3 separate regions of the Homo sapiens genome follow, and regions 2 and 3 are each linked to region 1. Evidence: promoter capture Hi-C in 16 types of primary human blood cells and fetal thymus (Javierre and others, 2016). All regions are on one chromosome and are shown on one strand. The core of a region is centred on a gene start or on the middle of the fragment in contact, and the rest is flanking DNA. Distances in the headings are between cores, read along the strand shown.

Region 1 (3,352 bases), core at 241-2,740:
TGTTTGCATAATGATGAAATTGCCTAACAGCTGCATTTCTCAGAGTGTATCCCCATTGTTACACGATGCATGACTGTGTAAGTACCTGCCTTATAAGTATCTTTTGAGAATTAAATGGAATAATTTACATAACACTTTTAGAAGCCAGGCTGTCACTTAATACGAATTCAAGAAGTGATAACTACCTTTATAACATTTAATATTATTATTATTTTAATTATCAGTACCAACTCCATCTGTTTACAGAGGAGGGTTCATCATAGGCCTGTAATGTGCATTTTCTGGAATTTTTACCTCTTCAAAATTTTGCCAACTGGAGCACTGAGGGGAAAATTTACAAATCAGTATTAAGTAATGGATTTTTTGTTTGTTTGTTTGTTTTTGAGACGGAGTCTCGCTCTGTTGCCCAGGCTGGAGTGCAGTGGTACAATCTCAGCTCACTGCAACTTACGCCTCCCAGGTTCAAGTGATTCTCCTGCCTCAGCCTCCCAAGTAGCTGGGACTACAGGCATGTGCCACCATGCCCAAATTTTTGTATTTTTAGTAGAGATGGGGTTTCACCATGTTGGCCAGGATGGGCTCCAACTCCTGACCTCAGGCGATCTGCTCACCTTGGCCTCCCAAAGTGCTGGGATTACAAGCATGAGCCCCCTTGCCCGGCCTAAGTAATGGTTTTTAAATCAGCTGAGAAATTCCCACATTAGGCCCTTTAGGTAAGGAAGATACGGATCTTCCCAAGCAGATGTGGATCATCTTCAGTCAAGGACGTACCAAGAGCCTAGATTTTCCAGGGAGGAGGCAATCTGTTTATCTTAAGCTCAGCCTGATTGCGAAAACCTGTTGTAAGAGGCCAGCAGTGCAGAAAGTGAGACCAGAAGCCTATGGAGGAAGGCTGTGAGCTTTTCCTACCACATCTCCACTGTATTACCCACAAGACATCAGAGAGGCTGCAAGACTGAGGCTTTCACATTCTTGTGGGTCCTGCTTTTTCTCTGTGGTAAAGAACCTGCAGAAAGCAATGCCTCTACTCAGACAAGCTGTCCATTCCTTCCCCATATCAGACAGAAGTGAATCTGATGGGAAAGAATCTCTCAGATTGGGATCATTTTCTCCCTTCCTGCAAAACTCTTTTCCCATTTCCCTCCCCTTCTTTGGGCTATAGCATGAGGTAAGCTTCCTCAAGTTCATGCTAACAAACATAAAAATGCATTAAACAATTTATGTATGTGTGAACGTGCACACACATGCATGCACACATTCAGTCCATAAGCAGATACTCAAATCGAGGAATTAGAAAACCTGACCTCACTGAGATCTAACCTGTTGAAATAGTATTTAATTACCATTTTTTCAAAAACTTTAGACATTATGGCAGAGGAGCAAAGAAATCCTTACCTCATGGTTGCTGTAAATTAGGCAGCCGTTCTGCAGGGTTTTGCTTAGCCAGGCTCCTCTGAGATCTGGCTATTCTGTCTTGTGGATTTTCAGTTACGTTTAAACCCCAAGACAGTGTTATATAAGGGAGCTAAACAGCAGCCAATGGTGTAAGCTGTGGGTGTGTCCTTGCAAGTTGGAAACCTAGGGAAACCGAAAGGGGAAAGTGAAACTAAAGCTAGCGGAATTCCTGCTGACGGGGGGGGGTGGGGAATGAAACTTTGTTTCTATTTTAAAACAGATAAACTGCAGACCTGCAACCATAGATGTTTCTAGTGCTGCAGAAACCCAATGACTGGCCAGCATTTGGAACGAGATTCACGTCCTCCCTAAAGAACATCAGTCCATTGCTGCCTATTGTGGCAGTTGGTGGCTGGATTCTGGATGAATACACAGAAAAAGGAGAATTGAAGGAGATAGCTCTATTTTCAGTTTCTATATTTAGAAGGAACCTACTATCAAATATAAAAATCTACTCTTAATTAATTGAGTAACAAGGCTTTTGGTTGCTGGTTGCTTTTTGGTTGCTTACTTTTGGTTTCAGCTTGACGGAAATAAGCAACCAATCTGGTTTAGGAATGAAGGAAAGAGACCAATACCTAGAAAGCCTTCTAACCCCTGATGACTTAGGCAGGAGGTAAAAGCAAGGAGGTATGGTTTGAAATAGAGAGCCCTCTATTGCTCCATCATGGACACTGTCATTCTGAATCAAATTCCAGTACAACCTCCACTACAGTTCATGGAATTTGAGTTTAAATAGTTAGCAACTACCTGGCACATAGAAGCATGCAAATAAGTGGTAACTATTATTATTATTATTTTCAGTCATCAAGTTAAAAATAATGATTCTTGGCTGGGTGCGGTGGCTCATGCCTGTAGTCCCAGCACTTTGGGAGGCCAAGGTGGGCGGATGACAAGGTCAGGAGATGGAGACCATCGTGGCCAACATGGTGAAACCCCCTCTCTACTAAAATACAAAAAATTAGCTGGGTGTGGTGGTGTGCACCTGTAGTCCCACCTACTCGAGAGGCTGAGGCAGGGGAATTGCTTGAACCTGGGAGGCAGAGGTTGCAGTGAGCCGAGATCACACCACTGTACTCCAGTCTGGTGACAGAGCGAGACTCCGTCTAAAAAAATAAATAAATAAAAAATAAAAAATTGTTGTCCGGGTGCATTGGCTCAGGCCTGTAAGTCCCAGTATTTTGGAAGGCAAGGCGGGAGGATCACTTGAGCCCAGGAATTGTAGACCAGCCTGGACAACATAGGGAGACCCCAACTCTACAAAAAAACTGAAAAAAAAAGCTGGGTGTGGTGGTGTGTGTCTGTGGTCTCAGCTACTCAGGAGGCTGAGGTGGGAGGCTCACTTGAGCCCAGGAGGTAGAGGCTGCAGTGAGCCATGGTCACACCACTGCACTCCAGCCTGGGCAACAGAGTGAGCCCCTGTCTCAAATAATCATAACAATATATAAAAACAATGTTTCCTTTAAAAAAACCTACCTACTTTGTCTTTTAACATAAGAAGCAGAAGAGGAGCAGGTGCAAGAGTATTTTCCTTTTGGAAACACTTAACTGGGCACACTGCCAGATCTAAACAGTTTCTGCTCAACTCCCTGCCAGACTCATCTCCCATGTCAGCTCTCACCAATTCTGTAAGCTTCCACAGAGAGTTCAACAACTAGTTAGAAAGTTCTACACAAATAAGAATTTCTGAATTAATAGGACAGGTTTTGTCTTGCACTCAGATACATGATCAGGCCATAAGCAAATGCTGAAACAGATGAATTAGAAAACATCTTTTGGGGAGCAAGATGTCTTTGGAATTCTTATGGGAAAAAATGGGTTTTCAATTTGCCAATGCACTAGATAGCATGCAGAGATATGAACAAAAAGTTTATCTTGCCATTGCTGTGAATTTGGC
Region 2 (3,352 bases), core at 461-2,960, 160 kb after region 1:
GGAATCATTTTATACTCTTGGCCTGGGGTCCTGCTATTTTAACAACACGAGGGTATAGCACCCCCAGGTTGTACAACTCCAGGGAGTACCATGTATATTTTCATGTATGTGAGCAGTGCCTTCCGGAGTAGTCTACGGAAGCTACCTTGCAGCAGAACTGTCATTTAAAAACAATTTGCTAGTTATCAAATCTATATTAGGACATTAGCAGAAATGAACATTTGTCAATTCACTTATAGTCTTATCATCTGGACAAATCATTCTTCTCATTTTTCCTTGGTATTTTACACTCCTCTTTGGTGTACATTAATTTTGCACAGCTGTAATTTAGAGTAGTCTATAATTTTGTATTTTGCTTTTTTTTCCTTTGCAAGGTATAAGCTTTTCTATGCTGTCACTGTCCTTGTCATGGTTGATGGATAATTATTATACCAAGTGGATTTCAATGAATTATTTGACCACTTGACAATTAGCTTATTTCCAGTTTTTCACTGTTATAAAGAATGAGCAGAGGGCAAAGGAAGCTCTCATTTGTTCACTGTGACCCGTGTGTCAGTCACTATACTGGATACTTACCTCACTTATTCCTCTTAACAATTATTTTTGGAACTGAGACGCAGACTGGTTAAGCAACTTAATAGTATGAGTTGATATATAGTGAACTCTTACTGTGTGTCAGACTCTTTGCTACCTACTTTTCATATAATATCTCATATCTCACTGTGTCCTATAAAATGTGTATTATCATTTCTACTCTTCAGGGAATTATATTAATTTTAGGAGATGTTTCCCCAAGGTGTCATGTTAGAACTTGGAGAGGACAGAGTTGAGCCTAGGTTTGTTTGAGCTGTCTAAAACTCATGATCGGGCTGGGCGTGGTGGCTCACACCTGTAAACCCCGCACTTTGGGAAGCCGAGGTGGGTGGATCGCTTGAGTCCAGGAGTTTGAGACCAGCCTGGGAACATGGTGAAACACTGTCTCTACAAAAAACACAAAAATTAGCTGGGTGTGTTGGTGCACGCCTGAAATCCCAACTACTCAGGAGGTTGAGATGGAAGGATCACTTGAGCCCAGAAGGTGGAGGTTGCTGTGAGCAGAGATCACGCCACTGCACTCCATCCTGGGTCACAGAGCAACATCCTATCTCAATCAATCAATCAATCAAATAAGTGGATAAAACTCATGGTCAGTATAATGTCAGCTCCATGGAGGTACTTTTTTTCCTCTTGTTTTTGTTCTCTGCTGTGTTCTCAGTGCTGAGAAGAAGGCCTGGCACATAGTTGGTACTCAATAAAGGCTTGTTTCATGAATAACTGAATGGTCTCAGCGTTAGGTAAGCAGCTTGAGGTCAGGTTTCTTTGGCTCCCACATCTTTGTTTTTTCTGCTATATCACTGTCTCGGGTACAGGTGAGTAGAAAATAAATTCTCACAGGCAGACACAGACACATATATTTATGAATTTGTGTGTGTGAGCCTTTTTATCTATTTAACTTTTATTCAGCTTTAAAAATTTTTATTAAATTTTATTTTTTAAAGCAGTTTTAAGTTCATAGCAAAATTGAGTGGAAGGTACAGAGATTTCCCATACACCCTCTGCCCCCACACTCCCCTGTTATGAACATCCCTCACAGAGTGGAATTGTAATTGTTACAGCTGATGAACCTACATTCACACAAAGTCCGTAGTTTACATTAGGGTTCCCTTTTTTTTTTTTTTTTGAGACTGAGTCTCCCTCTGTCCCCTAGGCTGGAGTGCAGCAGTGCAATCTTGGCTCACTGCAACCTCTGCCTCCCGGGTTCAAGCAATTCTCCTGCCTCAGCTTCCTGAATAGCTGGGATTACAGGTGTGGGGCACCACACCCAGCTACCTTTTTTGTATTTTTAGTAGAGACAGGGTTTCGCCATGTTGGCCAGGCTAGTCTCGAACTACTGACCTCAAGTGATCCACTCGCCTCAGCCTCCCAAAGTGCTGGGATTGCAGGCATGAACCACCACACCCGGCCACTACAGTTCACTCTTGATGTTGTATATTCTATAGTTTTGGACAAATGTATGATGGCATGTGTCTACCTCTATAGTATCATGCAGAGTAGTCTTACTGCCCTGAAAAATCCTCTTTACTCTGTCTATGAATTCCTTCCTCCCTCCTAACCCCTGGCAACCAGGATCTTTTTTACTCTCTCTATAGTTTTGTCTTTTCCAGCATGTCATATAGAATGCAGCCTTTACAGATCTTGGTAATATGTATTTAAGGTTCCTCTACATCTTTTTGTGGCTTGATAGCTCATTTCCTTTTAGGGCTGAGTAATACTCCATTGTCTGGATGTAGCACAGTTTAGTTATGCATTCATTTACTGGAGCACATCTTGGTTGCTTCTAAATTTTGGCAATTATGAGTAAAACTACTATAGACATCTGTATGCAGGTTTTTGTGTAGATGTAAGTTTTCAACTCCTTTGGGTAAAATACCAAGGAATGTGATTGCTGGATTATATGGTAAGAGTATGTTTAGTTTTGTAAGAAACTGCCAAACTTTTCCAGTGTGGTGCTACCAGTTTGCATTTCCACCAGCAATGAATGAGAGTTCCTGTTCCTCCACATCCTCTTCAGCAGTTGGTGTTTTCAGCGTTTTTGGATGTTGCTCATTCTGATACGTGTATAGTGATGTCTCATTATGTGTGATCTTTTTCTTTCCTTTTGTTTATTTTGTTAGGAATTATTGTGAGAAATGCAATTACGAAAGCAAATTGTAAAAACATTTTATAAGAAAAAAATTGTAAAAACATTTTATAATTTCTTAAAAATATATTGATTTTTGTTTTTGCTGCTTACATAAGTGTGTCTTGTTAGTGGACATGCAAAAAATGGTCCAGTTTCACTGCTACCTTGCCAGTGCTGTTTTAAAAAAATTCTTTACTAACATTATATGTGAGTACATCACTATGTCAATCTTTCAATTTATTTCTAGTTCATTATTTGCTTATGGATCTTTTACGAATGTTCTATTTAGCAAGATATCATATTTGTTTTGAAGCTTGGTGCTACTGCCTCCTAAACAATGAATGTTTTTCAGGTCCCAAACCAGTTGTCTTCCTGCAACATGGCTTGCTGGCAGATTCTAGTAACTGGGTCACAAACCTTGCCAACAGCAGCCTGGGCTTCATTCTTGCTGATGCTGGTTTTGACGTGTGGATGGGCAACAGCAGAGGAAATACCTGGTCTCGGAAACATAAGACACTCTCAGTTTCTCAGGATGAATTCTGGGCTTTCAGGTATATATGAATTGATAATGGCATGGATGTATTTCCTTAGTACTCTTAAAGCAGACAACAGGCTTCCAGCAGAAGAGGT
Region 3 (3,352 bases), core at 619-3,118, 170 kb before region 1:
CTCTTGCCTCAGCCTCCTGAGTAGCTGGGACCACAGGCACACACCACCATGCCCAGCTAAGTTTTGTATTTTTAGTAGTGAGGGGGTTTCGCCATGTTGGTCAGGATGGTCTCAATCTCTTGACCTCATGATCCGCCCACCTGGGCCTCCCCTGATTGACTTCTTTTGCTTAGTAATGTGCATCGAGTTTCCTCCATGTCTTTTCATGACTTGACAATTTATTTATTCTTAGTGTTGAATAATATTTCATTGTCTTGATGTACCACAATTTATCCAGTCACCTATTGAAGGACATCTTGGTTGCTTCCAGGTTTGGGCAATTATGAGTAAAGTTGCTATAAACATCCATGTGCAGGATTTTGTGTGGACATAAATTTTTGATTAATTTGAGTAAATACCAGGGGGTGCAACTGCTGGATTATATGGTAAGAGTATGTTTAGTTTTGTAAGAAACTGACAAGCTATCTTCCAAAGTGGCTGTACGATTTTGCACTTTGCAATGAATGAGAGCTATTACTTCACATTTGTCAGTATTTGATGCTGTTAGAGTTTTGGATTTTAGCCATTCTAATAGGTATGTAGTGGTATCTCATTGTTTTAATATGCAATTCCCTAACAACATGTGATATCAAGCGTCTTTTCAATGCCTTATTTGCTATCTGTATATCATTTTTGGTGAAGTGTCTATTCAGATCTTCTTTTTATTTTTTAACTAGGTTCATTTTCTTGTTATAAGTTTTATTACAAACTTTTTATTTTTTTACTTTTTTAATTTTTAAAGATGGGGTCTCGCTATATTGCCCAGGCTGGCCTCAAATTCCCGGGCCAAAGTGATCATCTTTCCTCAGCCTCTCAAGTAGCTGGGACCACAGGTGTGCGCCACGACTCCCAGCTCATCATGGATTTTTTTTTTTTTAATTGTGGAGATTTTAGTAAATGTGGACAAGCACAGAAAAAAAAATTATATAACTCAGAAATAACCAAAACATTTTGTTTTATACCCTTTGGATCTATTTTCAGTGTACATGTATGTAAATATTGTTCTATGTCATGTATTAAAAAATTGGGATAGCATTCAACAATGTAGAAACCCTACAGTGGTTTATAAGTGTTTTCCCAATTAGTAATATTTGTATAGGTCCATGTCTTCTTTGCCACCATTTCACTCAGTTCTAGATGCTTCCCATATGTATTCCTTTGTTTCAAATTATGCCAAACTCTTCACTGTGGCTGAATGATTGAGTTGGCCTTCAATCATTCTTCCTTGAAAATCCATAATGAAGTCAAGCAATGTAAATACAGTGTGAAAAGTTTTCTGTAAATCTCTAACAGATTTTTATCAAATAATTTTTTTAAGTGTACCATAAGCTGTTCCTCATTTACATTTTTCTGACTTACAGCTTGGTGTAGTTTGGGATTTAGAGAGACTAAATTAAAATCCTGGGTCTAGGTGGTGACATATGCTATTTAACCTGCCCAATTTTATTTTTCTTACATTTAAAGATGGGAATAATAACATCTAATTTGTAGGGTTGTTGGAAGATAATGAATAGTAACCAACAACCGCCTAATTCAGTGCATTGCCTGGCATCTAGTGACCCTTCAGGATTGCTAGTAGGTATCATGTGCAAGTATGCTAAGGGGGTACTAAAATCTGACTTGGCGTTTTTATGAGTGATTGCCAATGCTATTTATTCATTCAGTAAACATTTCCTAATTATCTGTTGTGTCTATATAAGTATTTAAGTACTATGGATACCGAGACAGAAAGAAAAAGCTTTCTTGTCCTCAAGAGGCTTGCTGTCTGGTGGGCAAGGTAGAGAAGTAAAGCACCAGCTACAATGCAATGCAATAGACACTAGGATAGGGTTGTGCATAGGGTGACAAGGTGCTACGAGGGCATGCTTGTCTAATCAGGATGGGGGGCAGTTTTCCAGAGAAGGCCATAATTAAGCTTGACTTGAAGTATAAAAGGAGTCCGCTTAGGTAGACAGAGATGGCGTGGAAGGGTGAAGAACACAATCTATTTGGAGAACTGTAAAAGGTTCTATATGTAGGTATTACAGGAGTTATTAAGAAATTATTTTAGGCAGCTAGAGAGGGTAAAAGAGTCCTCAGTAAGTCTTTTTCGTTTAATAAAAAAGCGGTCCCCCAAATATTTATTATCTAACAGAAAGCAGCCTGAAAAACCAGACCTGCAAGTATTGATATGCAAATGCAGATGGTTAAGAGTCAGGTCCAGCCAATATGGCGGTTCCTGCTACTTTTTCTTTGTTGCCACGTGTACAGGTGTCATGGCGACCAGCCAGGTAGCCGCATTTGCATAATAAAAGGCTAGGGTGGGAGGGCCAGTTTTTTTGGGGGGGCTACCTGAATGACACACGTGGTTAAACCAATCCCCTGTGCCCTATGCTAATTAGACACCACCTCCTCCAGCCTCCCAATATAAACCACTGCTTTCCTCTGCACGCGGGTTTTCGGTTCAGAGCCCTCCTCCCTCTGTACGGGGAGCTATTCTCTCCTTTCTTGCCTATTAAACTTTCTACCCCTTAATCCACTCCACGTGTGTCCACGTCGCTAATTTTCACCACACGAGATAAAGGACACCGCAACTGAGCGGTGTAATAGGGAGTAACATTGCCTTGGGCAGCTGTAGGAGACGACCCCAAGAGATAGTTTCAGCAGACATCATTATCTGGGTTAGCTGTTGCCCTTGCTCTAATTCCACTTCTTTTTTTGAGTAGAATTTGAACTTCTGCCCTAGTTCATCTGTTCCAGTCGCATCAGCCTCCTTGTGTTTCCTCAAGTATACCAAGCACACTCCAAACTCAGGGTGCCTTCATTTTGCCCCTTTCTCCTTTTCCGTGCTTTCCCTCCAGATGACCACAGCCACACTCCCCTGCCTCCTTCAGGTTGCTGCGTGAATGCCACGACCCGGACCACACACTATTTTTTTTTTTTTTTTGAGACAGAGTCTCGCTCTGTCGCCCAGGCTGGAGTGCAGTGGCACAATCTCAGCTCACTGCAACCTCTGCCTCCAAAATTCAAGCGATTCTCCTGCCCAGCCTCCTGAGTAGCTGGGATTACAGGCGCCTGCCACCATGCCCAGCTAATTTTTGGATTTTTCGTAGAGATGAGGTTTCACCATGTTGGCCAGACTGGTTTCAAACTCCTGACCTCAAGTGATCCGCTTGCCTCAGCCTCCCAAAGTGCTGGGATTACAGGCATGAGCCACTGTGCCTGGCCGTGGACTACATTCTTTTTTTTTTTTTTTTTGAGGTGGAGTCACGCCCTGTCACCCAGGCTGGAGTGCAGTGGTATGATCTCAGCTCACTGCAACCTCCACCTCCCT

Evidence for each region. The method cuts DNA at HindIII sites, captures the fragments that hold promoters and counts their contacts. A CHiCAGO score of 5 or more calls a contact.
Region 2: a contact is called between a fragment that was not itself captured here and the fragment with the promoter of IFIT1 in region 1, in 2 of 17 cell types (monocytes and M1 macrophages). The highest score is 5.3, in monocytes.
Region 3: a fragment that was not itself captured here is called in contact with the fragment with the promoter of IFIT1 in region 1 in 4 of 17 cell types (naive CD8 T cells, total CD8 T cells, naive CD4 T cells and 1 more); the score reaches 6.0 in naive CD8 T cells.

The regions. Positions count from the first base shown.
Region 1 is chr10:89,390,761-89,394,112 of GRCh38, reverse strand. It overlaps IFIT1 (interferon induced protein with tetratricopeptide repeats 1), which reads right to left and starts at 1,490. Exons shown (of 2, transcript NM_001548.5): 1 at 1,396-1,490. The coding sequence starts at 1,400. It also overlaps a transcript of LIPA not described here. RefSeq lists enhancers at 761-810, 1,612-1,661, 1,892-1,941 and a silencer at 2,494-2,655. The HindIII fragment of the contact is 1,915 bases long and covers 1,176-3,090 here.
Region 2 is chr10:89,228,121-89,231,472 of GRCh38, reverse strand. LIPA (lipase A, lysosomal acid type) reads left to right here. Exons shown (of 10, transcript NM_000235.4): 4 at 3,075-3,273. Among named protein-coding and RNA genes, the nearest start is that of LIPA, 22 kb to the left of the region's middle. The HindIII fragment of the contact is 2,654 bases long and covers 384-3,037 here.
Region 3 is chr10:89,558,036-89,561,387 of GRCh38, reverse strand. No RefSeq gene overlaps it. Among named protein-coding and RNA genes, the nearest start is that of SLC16A12, 24 kb to the right of the region's middle. RefSeq lists an enhancer at 1,995-2,519. The HindIII fragment of the contact is 177 bases long and covers 1,780-1,956 here.